2 separate regions of the Homo sapiens genome follow, and region 1 is linked to region 2. The links are contacts of gene promoters, found by promoter capture Hi-C in blood cells and fetal thymus (Javierre and others, 2016). All regions are on one chromosome and are shown on one strand. The core of a region is centred on a gene start or on the middle of the fragment in contact, and the rest is flanking DNA. Distances in the headings are between cores, read along the strand shown.

Region 1 (4,776 bases), core at 65-2,564, 170 kb before region 2:
CCTGCCTCAGCCTCCAAAAGCCCAGCCAAGTTTTTGATTTTTTTGTAGAAAAGAGGTCTCACATGTTGCCCAGACTGAAGTGCAGTGATGCCATCACAGCTCACTGCAGCCTCAAGCTACCCAGGCTCAGGTGATTCTCCTGCCTCAGCCTCCTCAGTAGCTGGAACCACAGGCACGCACCAACACGCCTGGCTAATTTTGGTATTTTTTGTAGAGATGGGGTTTCACCATGTTGTCCAGGCTAGTCTCAGACTCCTGGACTCAAGCAATCCTCCCGCCTCTGCCCCACAAAATGCTAGGATTACAGGCATGAGCCACCGCACCTGGCCGGGATTCTTAATTCGTACATTTGGCTGTCAGTGTAAACAATCCTGAGTCAGGCCTGATATTAACCAGGCAGGAGGGAGAGAAGCTTAGCAGGGATCTAGAGGTGAAACCACCTGCCCAGATTCCAGTTACTTGTCTGCCCCTAGAGCCAAGACTCATTGATTCCGCCTCGGATTTATTGTGCATTTACTACTGCCAGACTCTGCCCCAGGCAGATACAACAGTGAGCCAAACACACAGCAAGACCCGCCCTGGGGGACGCTCTCCTAAGCCAGGCATCTGCAGCTCTTAAAGCCCTGGGTACCCCTCTCTCCCTACCCTGTCCCCCAAAGCTCTCTCTGGCTTGCTTTCTCCCTGCAGCCTGCAGCACTCCCAGCACTCCGAGTGGCCGGATGCGGGGGCTTAACCTCAGTTGGAAACTGTCCAGAGGAGCCCAGCGCTGCCAGGTACCCTTTAAGACCCTGGAGATCTGCCTTAGACCTGGGGGCGGGGGGAGGGGGGCGAGGGAGGAGGGTGGGGGGGGCGGGTAACGGAGGGGGGAGGACGAGGGGGGCGGGGGGGTTCCCAGGAGCCCGGACCCCACCGCTGCTCTTTCCTCTTAACCCCACAGGCCCCGAGGGTTCTGTGCGCACCGACTGTAGGAAGCGGAATGTTGAAAGCCGCTTGGGGGGATTTGCCCCCTCTGGTAGATACCAGAACTATGGATATGCCTTTATATATTGGGGGGCGGGGGGGGGCGGGGGCGAGCCCGTGGAGCCGCCCAACTTCGCAGAGATTAAAGCTTGAGCCTGAGACTCAGCGAGTCGCACCTCGGTGCCTGTGTGCACGCGCAGGCCCCCGAGGGGGCGTCGGGGGAGCAAGGGGTGGGGTGGGGGCGCCCCTACCAGCCCCGCGGTGCACGACGGCTCCCATTGGCTGGGGCTCGGGCGTCCTAGCCAATCCGGCCGCGGGGTGCGTTTCTCCTGACCCGGGTGGGACCGCACCCCGCGGACTCAGAAGCGAGCGGCACCCCGGGACCATCCCACAGCAGATCCAGTGGCCGCCAACGTCAGGCTGGTGAGGGCACGACGGGTGGGGTTCAGGGGCGGGGGTCAGGATGGGGAGACGGGTCGGAGCGAGGGCGCCCCCTCGGCCCCACGGAGTCCCCGTCCCGTCCCGTCTCGCAGGAGTTGCCTCCTTCGTGGATGTTGGATGTGGAAGCCCAGGAGCCCCCCAAGGGGAAATGGTCGACGCCGCCCTTCGACCCGCGCTTCCCCAGCCAGAACCAGATCCGTAACTGCTACCAGAACTTCCTGGGTGAGACCTGCTCAGCCAGGTTATGGGAGGAGCAGGGTGTGACAAGGGACGGCAGGGAGGGGCACTCCCACCCTAAGTCCCGCGGAGACCGTTAGGGTGGGAGGCCGGGCGGGGCCGGGTTGGTGGGGGCGGGGCCTGGTCGAGAAAAGGCGGGGCTGAGCCTGGAGGGGCGGGGCGAGGTTGGTAGGGGCGAGGCCTGATCTGGAAGGTGCGGGGCCGAGTCGTGAAGGTGCGGGGCGAGGTAGGTAGGGGCAGGGTCTGGGTAGGAGGAGCAGTGTGAGGGAGGTAGGGGTCGGGGCCTGGCTGGGAGGGGCGGGACGGAGGCCTCCAGGGGAGAGGGAGGCGGGACGAAGCAGCGAAGAACTGGGAGGGCCCGAGCAGTGGAGGGGCGGGTCCTGTCCTGGAATGGGCGTGGCTTGCCGCGTGACCCCCGCCCGCCACAGACTACCACCGCTGCCTCAAGACCAGGACCCGCCGCGGGAAGAGCACGCAGCCCTGCGAGTACTATTTCCGCGTGTACCACTCGCTGTGCCCCATCAGCTGGGTGAGTCGGCAGAGGGGGCGCCGGGCCAGGCGTGTGCAGGGCTCGGCCGAGGCTGAGCCGGCGTCCCGCTCCCTGCCTTTCTGCTTCCCAGGTGGAGAGCTGGAACGAGCAGATCAAGAACGGGATTTTCGCCGGCAAAATCTGACTGCCCCAGCGCGGCTTCCTCTGAAGATGCAGTGATCCTGCATCTTTTTGTCTCGCGGAGCCCCGGGTCTCGGTTATCCACCCCTACCTCCCAGTGTCTAAGCCACGAATAATGGTATGCTGTTGCTGATGTTTCTTCTTAATGCCCAGCCAGCGATGCGTCGTGGTGGTGGTGGGGATCCTCCGTGTGCCTGTGTCCGGGCTAACGCTGCTTTTTCCGATAAGGGGCAGGTGGGGGACTGCTGCTCCATCAGGTAGCAGCAGGCAGTCAAGGCCCTAAGACAGGAAGCCGAATGCCTCCCGTCCCCCTTCTCCCTCTCCATTCCAGCAGGTAGATGCCTCGCGTTGACAGCTACGAGCCAGCCCAGGGTCCCCAGTTCTCAACACTGTCCCACCCAGATGGCTCCAAGGTGCTCCTGCCTCCAATCACCACACCTACCTCTCACCTCAGTCCTTTCCCTACTCCCCTCCTGCCTGGACCATCTCCCCAGGCTCCTTCCCCATCCCACCCCTGATCCATCCCATCTCGGGTCCTGAGGGGTCTTCTTTGTACCACCCAGCGCTGACTCCATCCCTTCCTCCCCCACTCTCTGGGCTCTCCACCACTCTCCATCACGACCCCGCTCCCACCTGGCTCATTTCCCCTCCCAGAACATCGAGATCCCCATCATGTGAGCCAGCTTATTTCCAACAGAATCCCCTGGTGTCCACGCTTTCGGCACCCGCACCCACAGCCAGGCGTAGCAGCCTGCTCAGTTCTCCAATGCATCAGGCTCACCCCGCACCCCCACCCCGCAGAGGCCGCTGTCAGTCTCTCCCACCGCACACATCGCCGCAATTTCTCCTGTGACCCCCGCCAGACTGCCAGCACCCAGAGGACGCTCAGAGCTCCCTCGGAATCATTCTTTACTCCTTCCCCATCCCGGCAGTAACACGGAACCGCATTCCGGTTCCAGACGCCCTTTGAAGTCTTGCCTCTCCCCAGGCCAAGGAGTGCCGCTTGACAAAGCCCTAGGGTTCCAGCCTGGTCCTGCTGAGGGAGCCGTGAGACCAGTCAGCCTGGGGTGCTGGTTTTCCCAACGGGTACTCCCTGAGCTATCAGCCTTCCAGAGGGGCTCCTAGGAGGGGGAAGCCCCATCCTCTGACTGAAGCGGTCCTATGAGGCCCTGTTCAACCCCAGGGTTCAAAGGTGACTACAACTAATCATGACAACTTGCAGGGTGACCCTAGACAAGCTTCTTGACCTGTGTGAGCCCGAGGTTCCCCAAGGCAAACCAAGATGGCTCAGGGCCCCATTATCAGAGGAGGTAGGGCTGGGTGAGCTCAGGGGGCTGACTCCATCCTGCTCCCTGCCCCATGATGACCTGTCCATCACCTGCCCTCCATGCTGCCCAGGACACACCCTAGATGAGCCATCCCCCAGGATGACGCCACCTCTGAGATCTTGGTCTCCTGGCTCCGTCTCTGACCACAACCCAAGAATGGGGTGAGGGCACAGGGTGTGGACTCAACTACAGGAGGGCTTCCTGTTCATGCAACGTCCCCAGAGCCTTGACGAATGCACAGAGGCGCTGGCAGAACCACGGGGGCAGGACCCCTCTCTGAGTCACAGAATGGAGCTAAGTTGGTGAGGTCACCCAGGTAACATCCCAAGCACAGGGTGCCACACCTGTGCAGCCACAGCAGCCTCCTGACCTCCCCAGAGCCGTGTCTAGAACCCATTTTTGCCCTGTTGGCCAGCCTTCCTCCTTCCTCCTCCTCCCATCATCCTATCTTCACTGCCTCCAGACCTCATCTCAGCACATTCTCACACTCCCGACCCCCTCTGCAGCCGCCACTGCCCCACTGATGCCTGAGCCAGGGGCAGGGGCAGACCTGCCCGGCCTGGCCTCCAGCCTGGTGGACCATCACCTGTGCAAACTCCGAACACCTCCTCCAGGTGCTCTGGCTGGCTTTCCCTGGTGTCCAGTAGCCGCCTCCTGAGACCCCTAATGCCAGCCTCACAGTCTCAGCAACCTCCCAGGTCAGAGAAAACCAAGGCCACTCTACTTATTCCTGCCCCCACCCAGAACACCTGCATCCTTGTTCGCTCAACATCCTCCTCCCGCCTTCTTTCTCTACTCCTTTTCCTCTTCTTTCTCCTCCTCCAGCCCCATCTCTTCAATCCTTCCATCATCCACTTTCCCCTCCCTCTGCGGTTCTTCCCTCAGAACCTGCTCCGTCCTCCCGGCCTCCAGACCACGGATCCTGAAGGCCACCTGCGCTGCCTCCCCTGCTCACTGTCCCCTGGCTCCTAGGGGCCGCAGCTTCGCCTCCTCTCTCTGGGTTTCCCCCTTTCCCATCCTGAAGGTGGCAGAGCCCGAATGGTTCTGAGAATGAGTTCAATCTAGGCCCTGAAGCTACTAACCATGTGGCCTGGGACAAGTTCCCTAGCCCCTCTGCGCTGTGGCCTTTTCATCTGAAAT
Region 2 (4,236 bases), core at 1,108-3,607:
CTAGTACATCCGACTTCTTAGGTTTGGGAGGAGTGAAGAAGGCCCATCAGGCACTTAGAACAGAGCCTAACAGATGGAAGGAACTCCAGGCAGTTTTGTTGTTGTTGTTGTTGTTGTTTTTGAGATGGGAGTTTTGCTCTTGTCGCCCAGGCTGGAGTGCAGTGGTGTGATCTTGGCTCACTGCAACCTCCACCTCCTGGGTTCAAGCGATTCTTCGCCTCAGCCTCCCAAGTAGCTGGGATTACAGGCATGCGCCACCATACCCGGCTAATTTTTGCATTTTTAGAAGAGACGGTTTTGCCAGGTTGGCCAGGCTGGTCTGGAACTCCTGACCTTGGGTGATCCACCGGCCTCAGCCTCCCAAAGTGCTGGGATTACAGGTGTGAGCAGGCATAGTTATTGTCATCATTCAAACACAGATCCCTCCAATCAGCCATGACCCCGGACCCTCACACTCCTGCCCCTTGGTCTGACCCTTCCCTTGTTCTGCCTAGTGCTGGCGTGGGTCGCACAGGAACCCTCATTGCCCTGGACGTCCTGCTCCGGCAGCTGCAGTCCGAGGGTCTCCTTGGGCCCTTCAGCTTTGTAAGGAAGATGAGAGAGAGTCGGCCGTTGATGGTGCAGACTGAGGTGAGGCAGTCCCTCAGCAACACAGGACGGGAGGCAGTGGGACGAGGGACCCTGGGGCTCCACGCAGCTCAGACCTGGGGGGACGCCTCTCACTCCCGTGCCTGCTTCCCAGGCTCAGTACGTATTCCTGCATCAGTGCATCCTGCGGTTCCTCCAACAGTCAGCCCAGGCCCCAGCCGAGAAGGAAGTCCCGTATGAGGATGTCGAAAACCTCATCTACGAGAACGTGGCCGCCATCCAGGCCCACAAGTTGGAGGTCTAAGTGACGAGGGGGCTGGGTCGGCAGCCCAGGCATCCTCAAGCTCTGGACACCCACTTGAGCCCAGATTCCTGGAAGAGCAGAGGGCTGGGCTCCCAGACTCCTGGGTGCTGTGGGAGGAGGGGGCTGGTATCCCAAACTCTGGTTTCCCCAGGAGAGAGTGGTCTGGTGGGCTTCAGATGAGTCCTATGGGAGCTGGGGATCTGGATTCCTGGTTCCCTGAAGGAGGAGAGGGATGATAGCTTGGATTCCCTAGGTCTTTCCAGGATGCAGAAAGAAACAGGCTGGGGCCTGGATTCTGAGGCAGGAAGGAATTTGGGTCTGGAGTTCTGGCTACTTGAGGACCAAAGGCAGGAAGGATCCTGCCTTGATTTTACTTCAGAAACCAAATCAGTCTTCTATAATCTGGGGTCGGAGGGAGTCCCTGTGCCCAAGGTCTCTCTGCACCCCACCATCCACATGTATTTTTCCTTCTATCCCATAATTTATTAAATCACTGTTCTCCCCAGAGACAGTTGTCCCATGGATTTCTGGGTCTGGAAATAATATTGGATTGGGAGTAGGGATGGGTTCCTGGTATCTAGGGATCGAGGCGAACGTCCAGGAGGGGACTAGAGGGACCCACACATTTGCACATGAAAAAATGTAGGTTTGGGTGGTTGAGTCTCTCAGAGAAGGCAGTGTCCAGACGTCTGTGTCCAGGGTCTGGGCAGTATGGACAGGGCTCGCTGGAGCTAGGTGCTTGGGGACTTGCCTTCTGAGCTTTTCTTTTACTCTTCTCTGTTGTTGTTGTTGTTGTTTTGTTCTGTTTTTGTTTTTGTTTTTGAGACATGGTCTTGCTCTGTTGCCCAGACTGGAGTGCAGTGGCTCACTGCAGCCTTGACCTCCTGGGCCCAGGTGATCTTCCCACCTCAGCCTCTAGAGTAGCTGCCATCACAAGTGCGCACCACCACGCTGGCTCATTTTTGTAGAGACGGGATTTTGCTATGTTGCCCAGGCTGGTCTCCAGCTCCTGGGCTCAAGCATTCCTCCTGCTTCGGCCTCCCAAAGTGCTGAGGTTACAGGTATGAGCCACCGCACTGGCCGCCTCCTGGGACTGGTGTTAGGGGAACTTAGAGGGCGATGTCTGGGGGCTGATAGCTGGGGACTTTGATGCTGAACCCTGCAGAGTCTGGGTCTCCAATGGGGGTCTGGGGTCTCCTAGGTCCTAGGACTGAGTATCCTGGCATGCCGTTCTTTGGGCTATACAGGGTGTGTGTCGTGTGTGTTGGGGCGGGAGGAGTGGAGTGGTCTGGACGGCCAACGACTGGACCAGAAGGCAGAAAATGCTAAAGCACCAGGATAAACATCTGTGGGCGTCATCGAGGTTCCCGGGTGGAGGCGGGAGGAGGGGCGGGGCAGGGCTTTCCGCCTACCCGAGACCAAATACGGGCACACACAATACACACCACACACGCGCGCACACGCACACGGGCACACACGCGCGCACGGGATCCTGCTCCGCTCCGCGGCTCCCCCGCCCCGGAGAGCTCCGCGATCAGCACCCGGGACAGCGCCACCGCCCACGTGCAGGGGGTGGGGTCCGGGCGGGGCTGGCGCCTCGGCGTCTCCCGGGAGTGTCCCGTCCAGCCGCCGAGCAGGTAGGAGCTGCTGGGACCCCCGCCCTCAGCCCATCCGCATCCGCATCCCTAGAGGAAAGGGGTGTGCGAGTGGGGGCTGGGGCACTGGGGAGACAACCAGAGGGAGGGCAGCAGCCTGAAGCGGAGAGACAGGGATCTGGGGACGCGAGACAGGTATGGAGAAGACAAAGAGCCGAGGGCGGGGAGTGGGGCGCAGGCGGAGGGGAGAGGGAGAGACCCTGGAGACAGAGGCCAGGCGATAGGGAAGAGAGACAGGCGGGTTGGGGAGGCAGACACAGGGAAGACGCCTATGTGGGGTCAAGAGGCAGCGTGGAGACCGAGGCGGTCACGAGAGCAGCACGGATGCGTGGAGAGACCAACAGGCCAAGAAGGATGAGGGGGCTCAGCACAGGCACCGGGCAGCCCCCGACCCGCCCTCCAGCAAAATTGGGGAGAGGGAAGAGGGAACCTGCGTCTCAGCTCCCAGGACCAGGTGCGGAGGGAGCAGTCGGCTGTGGGCGCTCGGACCACAGGCTGCCCGCTCCCCACCTCGCGGGACCTCAGGATCCCAGTCGGGCTATTGGGGGGTTCCCAGGCACCGGTGGGCCCCGGAGCGAGCCTGCCCCGCCGGGACTCCGCGTCTGTGCGTCAGCCCCGCCCGTTGTCCTGGCAACAACCCGTTGCCCGGGCAACCAGCTTTGCTCTCACCCCGCTTGAGAGGAGCCCGGCTGTTGCTCTGGGCAACGCGGTCTGCTGGTTCCCACGTCTGCCTTCGCCCGCTTCCGGTTCAGACCCTGCGGAGGGGCGAGGACGAGGCAGAAGTCAGCGGGATGCCTGTGGGGCCGTGGAGGAAGAGGGTATCCCTTTAGGATGGAACTAGGTCCTGGACACCCCCTCTCAAGTGCGGGGAGGCTGATACTACAACTCCCAGCATGACTCGCGGTGGCTGTCCGGTTTCTGCGCGGCTGTTCGCGCAAAGGCCTCATGGGAGTTGGAGTTCTTTGTTGTGCGTGGGGCTCAAAGGACGTCTGGGGTGGGAATGGGGGACTAGGGTGCTTGAGTGTCTCTGCAGAAAAGACTCCAGGACCCCGCCACCATGTTCCCGGAGCCCCCAACCCCGGGGCCTCCATCGCCCGACACGCCTCCCGACTCCAGTCGCATCAGCCACGGCCCAGGTGAGCAAGACCCGGGGGTGGGGGGCCGAGCAGAGAGAAAGCCTGGCCAGGATTCCGAGGGGCGGGATTCGGACGGGTGTACTCGGGCAGGCGGGCTGGAAAATCCGGCTGGGATCCCGGGTCGTCATCCTGGACTGGAATGCGAACGAAATGGGGTAAAAGGAAGGAACAGATTTGCAAAAAAAAAAAAAAAAAAAAAAAAAAAAAAATCGAAACCGGATCAAGGGGTGTTGCATGGAATGGGATCTTAGAATTGGAAGGTCCACCTAGCTCTTCTTTTACAGATAAGGAAACAGGCCCGATGAGGAGCAGGGCTTCTTGTAAAAGCATCAGGAGTTGAGCAGAAATGGGGGGCGGGGTCGGGTAAGGAAAGGCAGAACTAACAAGCAAGCAAATCCAGATGGTGTCAGCCTGGGTTGGGGCATCGAATCTCTCTATAGGCCACATTAGGTGGAAGAAAAACACAGGAAGAAATGCAATGAAAATGGCTGGAGGGAAAAGGAGGCCAGCATTCCAGCTTCCACGTGTAATCAGGACTGAATCAGCCTGCGTG

Evidence for each region. Contacts are between HindIII fragments. The CHiCAGO score rates a contact against its expected background, and 5 or more counts as called.
Region 1: the fragment with the promoter of COX6B2 here is called in contact with the fragment with the promoter of SYT5 in region 2 in 2 of 17 cell types (total CD8 T cells and naive CD4 T cells); the score reaches 6.0 in total CD8 T cells.

Annotation. Positions count from the first base shown.
Region 1 is chr19:55,351,257-55,356,032 of GRCh38, reverse strand. It overlaps COX6B2 (cytochrome c oxidase subunit 6B2), which reads left to right and starts at 1,314. Exons shown (of 5, transcript NM_144613.5): 1 at 1,314-1,383; 2 at 1,494-1,623; 3 at 2,067-2,167; 4 at 2,259-2,426. The coding sequence starts at 1,512. The coding sequence ends at 2,312. GARIN5B (golgi associated RAB2 interactor family member 5B) reads left to right here. Exons shown (of 11, transcript NM_001145402.2): 10 at 688-773; 11 at 938-1,125. The coding sequence ends at 733. RefSeq lists silencers at 1,730-1,779, 1,890-1,999. The HindIII fragment of the contact is 2,438 bases long and covers 1,111-3,548 here.
Region 2 is chr19:55,178,410-55,182,645 of GRCh38, reverse strand. SYT5 (synaptotagmin 5) reads left to right here and starts at 2,357. Exons shown (of 9, transcript NM_003180.3): 1 at 2,357-2,529; 2 at 3,560-3,683. The coding sequence starts at 3,605. It overlaps PTPRH (protein tyrosine phosphatase receptor type H), which reads left to right. Exons shown (of 20, transcript NM_002842.5): 19 at 495-630; 20 at 743-1,399. The coding sequence ends at 892. RefSeq lists silencers at 2,342-2,531, 2,412-2,824 and an enhancer at 2,812-2,891. The HindIII fragment of the contact is 13,685 bases long and covers 1-4,236 here.